2 separate regions of the Homo sapiens genome follow, and region 2 is linked to region 1. The links are contacts of gene promoters, found by promoter capture Hi-C in human tissues and cell types (Jung and others, 2019). All regions are on one chromosome and are shown on one strand. Each heading gives the region's core, a stretch centred on a gene start or on the middle of the fragment in contact. The rest is flanking DNA. Distances are from core to core; before and after follow the strand shown.

Evidence for each region. The method cuts DNA at HindIII sites, captures the fragments that hold promoters and counts their contacts. A contact is called where the count stands out against the background at its distance.
Region 2: a contact is called between a fragment that was not itself captured here and the fragment with the promoter of STOML1 in region 1, in 1 of the 25 tissues and cell types used here (spleen).

The regions. Positions count from the first base shown.
Region 1 is chr15:73,989,472-73,995,719 of GRCh38, reverse strand. It overlaps STOML1 (stomatin like 1), which reads left to right and starts at 3,425. Exons shown (of 7, transcript NM_004809.5): 1 at 3,425-3,629; 2 at 5,263-5,369. The coding sequence starts at 3,497. PML (PML nuclear body scaffold) reads right to left here and starts at 1,004. Exons shown (of 9, transcript NM_033238.3): 1 at 779-1,004. The coding sequence starts at 907. RefSeq lists enhancers at 422-591, 3,889-3,958, 4,019-4,148 and a silencer at 3,199-3,758. The HindIII fragment of the contact is 7,353 bases long and covers 1-5,844 here.
Region 2 is chr15:75,440,621-75,447,421 of GRCh38, reverse strand. The region is part of intron 1 of SIN3A (SIN3 transcription regulator family member A); the gene reads left to right. Among named protein-coding and RNA genes, the nearest start is that of SIN3A, 7.7 kb to the left of the region's middle. RefSeq lists a silencer at 6,270-6,419. The HindIII fragment of the contact is 9,103 bases long and covers 51-6,801 here.

The sequences.
Region 1 (6,248 bases), core at 2,176-4,675:
CAACAAAAAAAAACCAAAGTGCTTAATACAGTACCTGGCACATTTGAAGTGCTCATAAATGTTACCTAGTATTGTTAAGTAATGTTATTCTTAGTTGTAATAATGTTTATAAAAGTTACTGTAATACGGTGTCCTCTGTACTTTCATGAAGGGGAGTAAAAGGGCCTGAAAGGCAGCAGAGCAAGAAACCCAAGTAGTTCCTTTGTCGGGGGAGGTGGGAGGTGGGCAGGAAAGGTGTGGCAAGAGAAGGGTTCGTTGGGGAGGCTTCCTTAAGCAGAAACCACATGAGCTGGGAGGCCTTGGCAAAGATACCTCTTCAGTCTGAGCCAGTTTCTCACCTCGGATCTGGGAAGTTGGTTTTAGTTTTGCCGTGCCTGGGACATGCCCCTGGCTCCAGGCCAGCGCAACAGGGGTACTACCTCCATCCTCCCTAATCTGAAGTCCTGCATCTGAGGCAAAGTTGAGGCAGGGCTCGAGGGTGGGCGGAAGGGCCCAGGCCCGGAGGCCACTGACCCTTCTCACCTTGCCCAACTGCTCAGTGGAGAAACCGCAGCCCAGCGAGGCCGCCCCAACTCCTCCGTGTCCTCTTTTCTACTCTATCCTACCCTCCCTTCCCTGCCCCACCCGAGACGGTCAGGACCCTGGTGTCTGGACTTCCCGCTTTGTGTCACTCTCTAGGGTACTTGACCAAATCCTCCGTTAGACCCTCTCTTCCCGCCTCTCCCCACCACAGCAAACCAACAAAGCTTAACCCCATCATCCCCTAACCCAATAGTACCTCTGTAGGGCTGGGGCTGGGGCTGGGCTGGCGGCCTTCAGAGGGGGTCTCGGGGGGAGGCATGGTGGGCTCCTGGGGCCGGGCGGGGTCCTGCTGGGGCCTCGGAGATCGGGCGGGTGCAGGCTCCATGGACCCCAGCTTAGTTTCGATTCTCGGTTTAGATCTTGGAGTGCGTGAAGAGAAGCTGAAGGGGAGGCGTGAGCCAGTTGGCTGAGTCCCTTGAGCTGTCCGAAAGGGGAGGTGCCGGCTCAGGGCCCGCCTCTGGAGAGGAAGTGAGACAGAAGCTGGGGGCGGTTCTAGGGGGCAGAGAGGCCGACTGTGGGTTTTAAAGACACGCCCAGAGCGGGGAGGAGGTAGAGGCGGAGAGCTGCAGACCTACCGCTGACTTACGGTAAAGCGGGAGAGGTAGGGCAGAGCTGCAGGGGGGCAGCCCTGCTCCCGGCTTTGATCCATTCATCCGTTCACACTGGCACTGCTTCGTGCCACGTCCTGCCGGGAGCTGGGCGTACAAAGATGAGCCACACGCAGCCCCTGCTTTCTAAGAGCCGTAGATGTAATGGAAGAGCAAGCCTGCAAACGGAGACATTCTGGAAAGGAGAGCCCACAGCTGGGACCTGCAAAAGCAGTGGAAATTCACCAGGGATTTAGGGTTGTAGGTGGTGGGGTACGGGGGACACTTGAAACAGAAAAGATAGCTCTTGCAAAAGCCTGTTTGGGAACTAATTTTGGCCATTTTCAGATTTAAGAGGGAATTCATGAGAAATGATACCCAAGGAGTGTGCTAGGACAAGATCCTAGCTGAGGAGATTGAACCAGTTCTGTGAGTGATGGGAAGTTGCTGAAGGATTTGGAACCAGGGAACAACACGATCAGCTGTGCATGATGGGACAGTCACTCTGACAACCTAGGAGCAGGTGCCCTGGTCTAGGACAGTGGCTGTGGGATGCAGAGGAGGGACTTGATTCAGAGATCCTGGGAAGCCAGTGACTGGAGGTGAGGGAGCAGGATGATGCCTTGAGTGACAGCTGGAAAGGCTGGTGGATCTGAGGTGGTGGGGGCAGGAGGGAGGGGGAGAGCTGGAGAGCGGGTATGAAGAGGGTGAGGGGAGAGCCAGCTAGGTCTTCGCCAATGGAAAAGCATGTCAGACTCCCAGCTGGTAAGGGGAAAGGGGCACAGTTCCAGGTGACCTCACTGGGTCAGCGCCCCGGCTTCAAACTTAAACCATCGCAACCACTGTGCTGGCTCCTGTGTACCCATTCCGTACTCTGTTCCAACTTAGAAACAGACTAGAAAGGATGATGATAGGGCCTGGCTCTTGTAAACCTTACAGTCTGCAGGGTGGAGAGCAGGGGTTGGGCAGATACGCAACTTCCTAGGGACTGTAAGGCCTCAGGAGCCTGCCCTTCCCTCCAGCCTGGTCAGTACTCCCAGGCCTTTAGAGAATCAGTCCATGAAAGCCAAATATGGTGGGCAGCCATCTGCACAAGGGACCTGGAAGTGGGCTATGGCAGGATGGGGCTTCGGAGGCCAGAGGCGATTGGCTGAGGAGGCAGAGCTGGGGAAGCTTTATTCATTTCTTTGCTTGCTTTGGAAGATAGCCTGCTCCCAGACTACCCCAAAGTCCTGTTGGAAGTTAACACTTCTCAAAGGAAATTCACGAGTTGCATTCAGGTTTTCTCAAGCCCTGGAGAGGCAAGTTAATTCCAGGTACCTGGATCAAGGGGCATGCTCTTTCTGGACCTGCAGGACTGAGGGCCTCACCTCTGTGGTGCTCTGGGGCCCCTGCCCTCATGTAGCTCTGTGCTATCCCCTTCTTCCTTACACTCCCATGCTCCCCGAAGTCTGCATGTGAAACTTCTTTCTTTTTGTGCCAAAGTTCAGGCCTTCCTACTCCACCTTGATCACGGTGACCTGGCCAGGCCATTACTTAACAAATAAGTATTGAGACCTGCCCTATGCCAGTCCCTGCTTGCTGGGCTGTGGGTTCACAAAGAGGAATAATTTGCAGACTATGTCCCAGAGAAACCCAAAGTCCAGATATGGCATGTCCTGCCTCCAGTGTGAGAGAAGGAGTGCTGAGAAGGCTGATATAGCATGTCCTTGATCCTGGAGAAGATTGGCTTCCTGTAAACCCTGATGAGATCTTGCTCTCTCGCTCCGACTGCAGTGCAGTGGCACGATCATAGCTCACTGCAGCCTCAAACTCCTGGACTCAAGAGATCCTCCCGCCTCAGCCTCCCAAGTGGCTGGGACCACAGGCAGGCATCCCACGCCAGGCTAATTTTTAAAAATTTTTTGTAGAGATGGGCTCTCACTATGTTGCTCAGGATGGTCCTGAATTCCTGGCCTCAAGCGATCCTCCTGCCTGAGTCTCCCAAATTGATGGATTATAGGAGTGAGCCACCGTGCCCAGCTTCCCCTCCAGCTTTTCTAGGGCTGAGTAGGAGAAGAGGGGAGGAGGCGATGACCCCAGCGGGGTCCGAGGAACGCCGATCACACCCAGTAGCCCTGGGCTGCAGTTCGGTCCTCCCAGCGCAGGGGGAGCCATGCGACGGCGGAAGCGGGCCCCGGCCGGCCTCCTCTTCCTGCGCCCGCGCCGCCGCGGGTGGCCGCGCGGGTGAAGCCGGAAGCAGCAGCCAGGAGGGCGGGGCCGCGTAGGGCCCACTGGCCAGGGAGGGCGCCGCGCGGAGGCGCGGGGCGTGTCTCCTGTCAAAAGCCATGCTCGGCAGGTCTGGGTACCGGGCGCTGCCCCTGGGTGATTTTGACCGCTTCCAGCAGTCGAGCTTCGGCTTTCTGGGCTCGCAGAAGGGCTGCTTGTCCCCGGAGCGGGGCGGCGTGGGGACAGGGGCCGGTGAGTGGCCGCCTGGCACGGCGGAGCCGGGGGGGACCGGCCGGCAACCCCCAGGCCCGAATCTCTGCCTCCGAGGAGTCGGCCGGCCCGGTGCCGTCGCACCCTACGAGGGGGGACTGAGAAAGGGATACGATGTGGAGAGGGGGCTGGACCCGGCGCCTGGTGCTAGCGCCGATCCGCCCTCCCTAGGGTCATGGGGCTTTGGCCCCAGAGCCAGCCAGCGTTGCTCCTATCTTCCAAAACCTCACCTCACCACATTTGTCCTCGGCTCTTATCAGCCCTTTAGGCCTGGGAAGACGTTTCAGGTTTCTATTTCGCATAGAAGAAACCGAGGTCTAGGCAGAGGAGGCCACCAGCACCCTAAAGGCACCTGCTGCAGGGAAATGGAAGAATTTTCGCCCTAGGGGGCACCTCTAGAAGCCCGGGAACTAGGCATCTCCTGGATGTGCAGGCCAAAATGACAGGTCCTCAGCTGCCTGTTGGATCTGCCCTGCTTCTGTCTTGCCCTCAAAGTCTTCTGTGGCTCCTTTGGCCTACAGGCCAGATCCCACGCTGTTCAGCCTAACCGCCTAACCTTGGATTTGATCCCTCCCTGGCCTTCCTGTCCTGAAAGCTCTCCCTATCCAGAAGTCTCTTGAGAGGCCTGGTGGATCAGAGCCAGGCACAAAGTGGAGCCTCAGTGCTCTGGGGCTTAGCCCAGAGGGCAGGGCTTCCTGGAAGAATGGAGCAGGGCTCCCGACTGCTTCCTGTCCAGGGTTGGGAGGAAAGCGGCAAATAACCTCATCCCAGATTCTGGAGCTGTCTCGGCTTTGCTCCCAACTTGGGCTCCTGAATCTCCAGGGGCCAGGACATTTGGCTTGGATAAGCCTCATCTTTCTAGCCCTGCCCCTGACCCCGACCCCTAACAATTTTCTTGAATTGAAATAGGCAGGGTTTTTTTTTGTTTTTGTTTTTTGTTGTTTGTTGTTTTTTTGAGATGGAGTCTCGCTCTGTCCCCCAGGCTGGAGTGCAGTGGCGCCATCTCGTGAAATAGGCATTTTTTAATGGTCATTAAGGCATTAAAGTTGGGTGTGGAATAGAAAATAATAATCTAATTCCTCATCTGTGGCTCCCGTTGATAAGCTATTTATGATTTATCCCTGTAGGCTAAGGCATCATCTTCATAAGGACTCCTGGAAAGCACACTTCTGGGGCTGATGGTATAGGAGGAATGTGTTTTGCCAGCAGTATTCAGTGCATGTTTACAGATGCCCAGGTGCTCCTGGCTCCATGCCAGGTATGGGTAGGCAATATAAATTAAACGAGAGGATTGACCCCTACTCAGTCCAGTGAGGAGAGCATCATCACGCGGACTGGATTCTGAGATTGAATGGCTGTTGCCTAGCAGAGAATAAGGCCTTGTGAGGGTTGTTGGACTTGGGACAAATGAGTGTTGATGTATGGGAGGAGGGAACAGACCCTAACTTGCAGCTGCCCAAAGATACGGGAATATTAGGCAAGGAGCCAGATTGAGAGCCCTGAGAAGGAAGGAGCCTCTCGAGGGGAAGGTGGGCGTAAGGTACACTTGCCCAAGTTCACTCCGCTTGGCAGCTGTCGTGCAGGTCCAGTTGACCACCTCTGCTCTCACCTGCAGATGTACCCCAGAGCTGGCCCTCCTGCCTCTGTCATGGCCTCATCAGTTTCCTGGGGTTCTTGCTGCTGTTGGTCACCTTCCCCATTTCTGGCTGGTTTGCCCTGAAGGTAAGGCTGGCTGGGTCAGCCCCCAGGGTGGTTGGGCCACACTGAGAGCTTTGGCATTGATGAATAAATTTGCCTATCCTCTGTCCCCTTTCCCTAAATATTATTACCCCTTTGTGTAATGGGCTAGGCAAGAACCATTCATTCACATTGGTCAGGGGAGGAAACTAAGGCTTGGGCTTGTCTAAAGTCATACTGGGAGCCAGTAGGGGGTAGAAGCAAGTCCCAAACTCCTAAGTCCTGGGATCTGGACACTGGCTTTAAGGTACACGCAGATGTCTTTGCCAAATTATCTTCTCTTTGGGTTAGAATAAATTAGAAATGAAAACACCCAACTTAGCCCAGCTGGTAGTGCATAATAGGAATTCAGGCCTCATTTTCCATAAGGGGTGGTACAGTGGGAAAAGGATGAACCATGGAGCTATAGTTCAGCATCGCACGTGAAAGCTGGGGGAAGGTGGAAGCCCAAGGAGGCCTTGCCCTTTGTGTAGCCCTAGGCAACAGTCCCTCTCTAGAAAACCTCTGGGTTTGGTGTGGTCTGCAAGGGGGTCCTTAAATGGCCTTATATCCTAGTTCTAAAACTGCCACAGAAACAAATGCCATGTGACCTTGAACAGGTTTCTTTGCCTCTCTGGGCCTTCATTTCTCAATTTGGACATCACTACTTCTCTAGGAGGTCCAGGGACCTAAAGTTGACAAAGCCCTTTCCCCGGGGGTGCTGTTAGGGCAGCCGAGCCTTTTCTCCTAACTAATCCAAGGACAGACAGTTTCCTGGTATGAGTCATGTCTAACTTCAGACCACAGAGATGAAAAGTTTCTCTAAGGATCAAGTCAATACAGTGCAGTAGTTAAGACACATGGCCTTTGGAGTTATTCAGAACT
Region 2 (6,801 bases), core at 3,353-5,852, 1.5 Mb before region 1:
TCCACTCGATGTCTCCTCTTGGATAACTAAGAGACATTGTTGACTCTTCTGTGTCTTTTTCATATGTGGTCCATCAGTAAATTTTACTGCTTTATATTCAAAATACTATCCAGAATTAGACCACTTAGGATCTGCATCTCCACTGCCCTAGTCAGTGCCTGTGCATCTCTAGCTTGGATTCTATTCTCCTTGTTTTGTTACTGCGGCTCTTAAATGTGTTCTCAACATAGCAACCCAAGTGATTCTTTTGAAACCTAAGTCATACCGTGTCACTTCTCTGCTTAAAACCATCCAGTGGCTTTCCATTTCAGTCTGAGTATTAAACCTGAGTCCTTATTTAGATATGTCTGTAATGAGCTGGGCGCGGTGGCCCATGCCTGTAATACCAGCACTTTGGGAGGCTGAGGCAGGCGGATCACGAGGTCAGGAGATTGAGACCATCCTGGCTAACATGGTCTCCACTAAAAAAAATACAAAAGAGTTAGCCGGGCATGGTGGCACACGCACCTGTAGTCCCAGCTACTCGGGAGGTTGAGGCAGGAGAATGGTGTGAACCCGGGAGGTGGAGCTTGCAGTGAGCCAAGATCGTGCCACTGCACTCTAGCCTGGGCGACAGAGCGAGACTGTCTCAAAAGAAAAAAAAAAGGATATGTCTGTAATTTCACCATTTTGGGAGCTCAAGTGGGAGGATCGTTTGAGTCCAGGAGTTTGAGACCAGCTTGGGCATCATAACAAGACCCTGTCTCTATAAAAAAATTAAAAATTAGCCAAGCATGCTGGCGCGTGCCTGTAGTCCCAGTTACTTGAGAGGCTGAGGCAGGAGGATTGCTTGAGCTCAGGAGCTTGAGGCTGCAGTGAGCCATGACTGTGCCACTGCACCCCAGCCTTGACGACAAAATGAGACCCTGTGTCAAAAAATAAAAAAACACCTGTAAGAACAAATCTGATGTACCCTCTGCCTGCCACCCTTATCCTAGTACCTCTCTGACTACATTTCTGACTAGTCCTTCTTTCGTTTTTCTTCAGCTACCCAGCCTTCATGCTGTTTTGGAACATGTCAAGCACATGTGAGCCCTCACAAAGACATGAGGGTCTTTGCGGTTGCTGTCCCCTCTGCCTAGAAGGCTTCCTCCACTAATTTCTGCATGACTAGCTCCCTCACTTCCTTTACTCAGAAGTTACCTTATCAGTAGGTATTATCTGACCATTCTTATCTACAATTTCAAAAACTCTTCCTTGCCTTTTGTTCTTGATACCTGTCACTGCCTACTATTCTAAATATTATACTTTGTCTATTGTGTCATCTTTCACTAAAATATAAGCTTCTTGAGGGAAGAGATTTTTGTTTACCGTTGTATCTCCAGCTCCTAAAACACCTGGTGCATAGTATGTGCTCAGTAGATATTAGAGAATGTATACATGAATGAATGATTTGGTTTCCACCACAGACAAGACAAAGCAGTATGCTGAGCATGGTAGAGGATACATAGATGGTTAAAGATGTTATGTGCCCATGTTTGTGTGGGAGCAGAAGAGCTAATGTGATAAAAGCAGTGTGAGATGTGAGTGACACTTCCACCTGTCCTTTCAAGAACTATCTCAAGTTCTATTCTTTGTAATGCTCTATTTTCTTTTCTTTCTTTCTTTTTTTTTTTTTTTTTTCTTTTTTTTGAGACAAGGTCTCACTGTGTTGCCCAGGCTAGAGTGCAGTGGTACTATCTCGGCTCATTGCACACACACACATACACACACCCAGCTTCAAGTGATTCTCCTGCCTCAGCCTCCCGAGCAGCTGGGATTACAGGCATGCGCCACTACACCCAGCTATTTATTTATTTATTTATTTATTTTGAGACGGAGTTTTGCTCTGTCTCCCAGGCTGGAGTGCAGTGGTGCAATCTCGGCTTGGCACAATCTCAGCTCACTGCAACCTCCACCTCCTGGGTTCAAGTGATTCTTCTGCCTTAGCCTCCCGAGTAGCTGGGATTACAGGCACCCACCACCATGCCTGGCTAATTTTTTTTTTTTTTTTTTTTTTTTTGAGACAGTGTCTCGCTCTGTCGCCCAGGCTGGAGTACAGTAGCGCGATCTCAGCTCACTGCAATCTCCCCTTCCCAGGTTCAAGCAGTTCTCCTGTCTCAGCCTCCTGAGTAGCTGGGATCACAGGCGCCACCACCATGCCTGGCTAATTTTTTGTATTTTTAGTAGAGACAGGGTTTTACCACGTTGACCAGCCTTGTCTTGAACTCCTGGCCTCAGGCAATCCACCTGCCTTGGCCTCCCGAAGTGCTGGGATTACAGGCATGAGCCACTGCACCTGGCCTTATAGATATTTTGAAAGATTATATTTCTTATATTAAATAGAGATAGGGTCTTACCATGTTGCTCAGGCTGGTCTTCCTGGACTCAAGCAATCCACCTGCCTCAGACACCCAAAGTGCTGAGATTACAGGTGTTAGCCACCATGCCTGGCCTAATACTTAATTTTTAAAAAACTTTTTCTTTGGAAATAATTTTAGACTTCAAAGAGAGTTGCAAAAATAATACAAATAATAGCCCTATAATCTTCACCTAGATTCCCCAAGTGCATCTTTTAAAACCACAATACAGTGATCAAATCAGAAAATCAACATTGATAACAATTATTAATACATTTTGAATTTAACTAAATTTCTGTTCATTTTCTACCTACAGTAGTAAGAAATGTCTGGGTAACATCAGTGTCACCGAAGTCTGTATTGCCCAGATTGGTCTCAAACTCCTGGGCTCAAGCAGTCTGCCCACCTCGGCCTCCCAAAGTGCTGGGATTACAGGCCTGAGCCACTGCACCTGGTCTGGACTCAATTTTAGTTTTTGAGTTTTGCTTTTTTTTTTTAAAGCAGTACTAACTACTTGTAAAGATGTATATTTCATGACTTTTATTTATTGGAGGTCTTCAAAACAGCAAAGAGAAAATTTATTTTTATTTTTAATTTTATTTTTGAGATGCGGTCTTGTTCCATCCCCAGGCTGGAGTGCAGTAGCGCGATCTTGGCTCACTGCAACCTCCGCCTCCTGGGTTCAACTGGTTCTCCTGCCTCAACCTCCCGAGTAGCTGGGATTACAGGTGTGTACCACCATACCCAGCTAATTTTTGTATTTTTAGTAGAAATGGGGTTTCACCATATTGGCCAGGCTGGCCTCAAACTTCTTATCTCTCGAAGTGCTGCGATTACAGGCATGAGTCACCATGCCCAGCCTGAAAATTTATTTTTTTTCCAAAGGAATAAACTCATTTTAGCTATTACCACTTGTACATCGAAACAATGTTGTGGAGTTTTACTGATCTTATTTTTCCTGTATATTGAAATGTTTTGGTATTTCATCATCCTAGGAATTATTTCATCATTACTCATCAATTCTCAAATATGCTAAAGAGGACTAAAATAATATGACAAAGGGAGAATTATAGAATTGCTTAAAAGGATATGCAGTAGTGAAATAAATCATTAGTTTTACACTTCAGTTTTTAGAGATGGGGCCTCGCTTTGTTGCCCAGGCCGAAGGGCAGTGGTATGATCATAGCTCTCTGCAGCCTCAAACTTCTGGGCTCAAGTGATCATCCCTCCTAAGCATCCTCGGTAGCTGGGACTATAGGTGTGCACCGCAGCCCTTCAGTTTTCTTATTGCTTTTCCCAAAACTTACAGCAACTTTTTTTTTCTTTTTGGATACAGGGTCTCACTCTGTCACCCAGGCTGGAGTGCAGTGGCGCAATCTCAGTTCACTGCAACCTTCGCCTCCCAGACTCAAGCAATCTCACCTCAGCCCTCCAAGTAGCTGGGACTACAGGCATGTGCCACCACACCTGGCTAATTTTTGTATTTTTTTTGTAGAGAGAACGTTTCGCCATGTTGTCTAGGCTAGTCTCGAACTCCTGGGCTCAAACAATCCACCCACCTTAGCCTCCCAAAGTGCTGGGATTCCAGGCATGAGCCAGCATGCCCAGCCTACAGCATCTTTCAAGAAAGTATAAAAGAAGTTGGGAGATACCATCTTAAACATTATGTAAGATGTTAACATTTGGAGAATCTAGGTGAAGGAGTACATGGTAATTTTTATACTATTTTTCAACTTTTAAGCTTTCATTGGACATATTTAAAAATCCATAGTTTTTCATCTTCCTCCTATAATGGCAAAGAGAAGAAAACTGACTACAGAAGACATTTCAGAGGAACTAGTAGATGAATGCTGTGTGACAGTAGTACTCTAGACTGTTAGGATGACGGTAAAGTTATATAAACCAAGTTGTAAAATAAGAGTCTTCAGCCAGGCATGGTGGCGTGCACCTGTAATCCTAGCATCTCGGGAGGCTGAGATGGGAGGATCACTTGAGCCCAGTACTTCAAAACCAGGCTGGGCAACATAGCAAGATTCTGTCTCCACCCATATACATATGTGACTGTACCCTAGATGAGTTTAGAATGTGATTTTTTTTTTTTTTTTTTTTTTGAGACAGAGTTTTGCTCTTATTGCCCAGGCTAGAGTGCCATGGCACAATCTCGGCTCACCGCAACCTCCGCCTCCTGGGTTCAAGGGATTCTCCTGCCTTAGCCTCCCAAGTAGCTGGGATTACAGGCATGTACCACCATGCCTGGCTAATTTTTTGTATTTTTAGTAAAAGATGGGGTTTCTCCATGTTGGTCAGGCTGGTCTTGAACTCCCAACCTCAGGTGATCCACCTGCCTTGGCCTCCCAAAGTGCTGGGATTACAGTCGTGAGCCACCATGCCCAGCGGTGAATTTTTTTTTTTTTTTTTTTTTTTTTAAAGATGGGATCTATCTCACTATGTTGCCCAGGCTGGATTTAAATTCCTGAGCTCAAGCTGTTCTCCTGCTTCAGTTCCCCCAAGTAACTGGCACTATAGGCATCCAGCTAGAATGTGATTTTCTTTTTATAAGAATCAGAACTGGGCTGGGTGCAGTGGCATATGCCTGCAATCCCACCTTCTTGGGAGGCTGAGGTGGGAGGATCGCTTGAGCCCAGACGTTCGAGACCAGCCTGGGCAACATAGTGAGACCCCATTTCTATTTTTAAGAAATGAAAAAAAAAAACAATCAAAACCACTGCACTTTGCCAAAAAGATGTATGATAGTATTCTTTCATCTTTCAAGATATTTGTACACCAAAACTTAGTTGATGCAGTTTGTAAGTGGACAGGTGCCAAAGTTACGTATATGTATAAAGATGGTTAGAAGGAAAAATTATGTAAAAATGAAAAAAAAAATCAGTTTTTTTTTTTTTTTTTTTTTTTTTTTTTTTTTGAGACAGAGTCTCACTCTTGTTACCCAGGCTGGAGTGCAGTGGCATGGTCTTTGCTCACTGCAACCTCTGCCTCCTGGGTTCAAGCGATTCTCCTGCCTCAGCCTCCCGAGTAGCTGGGACTACGGGTGCGTGCCACTGCACCCAGCTAATTTTTTGTAGTTTTGGTACAGATGGGGTTTCACCGTTTTAGCCAGGATGGTCTCAATCTCCTGACCTCGTGATCCACCCGCCTCGGCCTCTGAGAGTGCTGGGATTAGAGGCAAGAGCCACACGCTCAGCCTGGATTGTTCATTCTGATTGACATTTATTAGTCTAAAAATGAGAATGCTTATGATTATGGAGCAAAGAAGATGACTGTTCTCTCCAACAAAATTATGAAGTGAGTTTTCAAAGTATTTCATTTGATGGGCAGAAAGGGAAAAAAAGACCCAGAGGTGATAAGCTAGAACCTTACTAGAGCTGTACCTGAAACCTGGAATCAAAATTTACAAAATGGAAGCCAAGCGTGGTGGTGTGTACCTGTTTACAGAGTGGAAGCCAAGTGTAGTGGTATACACCAGCTACTCGGGAGGCTGAGGCAGGAGGATCGCTTGTGGCCAGGAGTTCAAGACCGGCCTGTGCAATGTAGGGAGACCCTGTCTCTAAAAAAAATTTTTTTCTTATTAGCCACTCTGTAGTCCCAGCTACTTAGGAAGCTGAGGTGGGAGGATTGTTTGAGCCCAGCAGTCTGTAATGAGCTATGATCATGCCACTGTACTCTAGCCTGGGCAATAGAGCAAGACCCTGTTTTTTTTTTATTTTGTTTTTTGTTTTTTTGAGACGGAGTCTGGCTCTGTTGCCCACGCTGGAGTGTAGTGGCGAGATCTCGGTCAACCTCCACCTCCCAAGTTCAAGCAATTCTACTGACTCAGCTTCCTGAGTAGCTGGGATTATAGGCACACGCCACCATGCCCGGCTAATTTTTTTGTATTTTTAGTAGAGATGGGGTTTCACCATGTTGGCTAGGCTGGTCTTGAGCTCCTCACCTCACGTGATCTACCCGACTTGGCCTCCCAAAGTACTGAGATTACAGGCGTGAGCCACTGCACCTGGCCAACCCTGTTTCTTTTTCTTGTTCTTTTTTTTTTTTTTTTTTTTGAGACAGAGTCTTCGCTCTGTCACCCAGGCTGGAGTGCAGTGGCGCGATCTCAGCTCACTGCAAGCTCTGCCTTCCAGGTTCACGCCATTCTCCTGCCTCAGCCTCCCGAGCAGCTGGGACTACAGGCGCCTGCCACCACGCCTGGCTAATTTTTTGTATTTTTGGTAAAGACGGGGCTTCACCTTGTTAGCCAGGATGGTCTCGATCTCCTGACCTCGTAATCCGCCTGCCTTGGCCTTCCAAAGTGCTGGGATTACAGGCATGAGCCACCGCGCCCGACCCCTTGTTTCTTAAAAGAAACAAAAAATTTATAGAATGGCTGTGTTCCAAGTTCATGCATGACATTTGATGAGTACTTGGT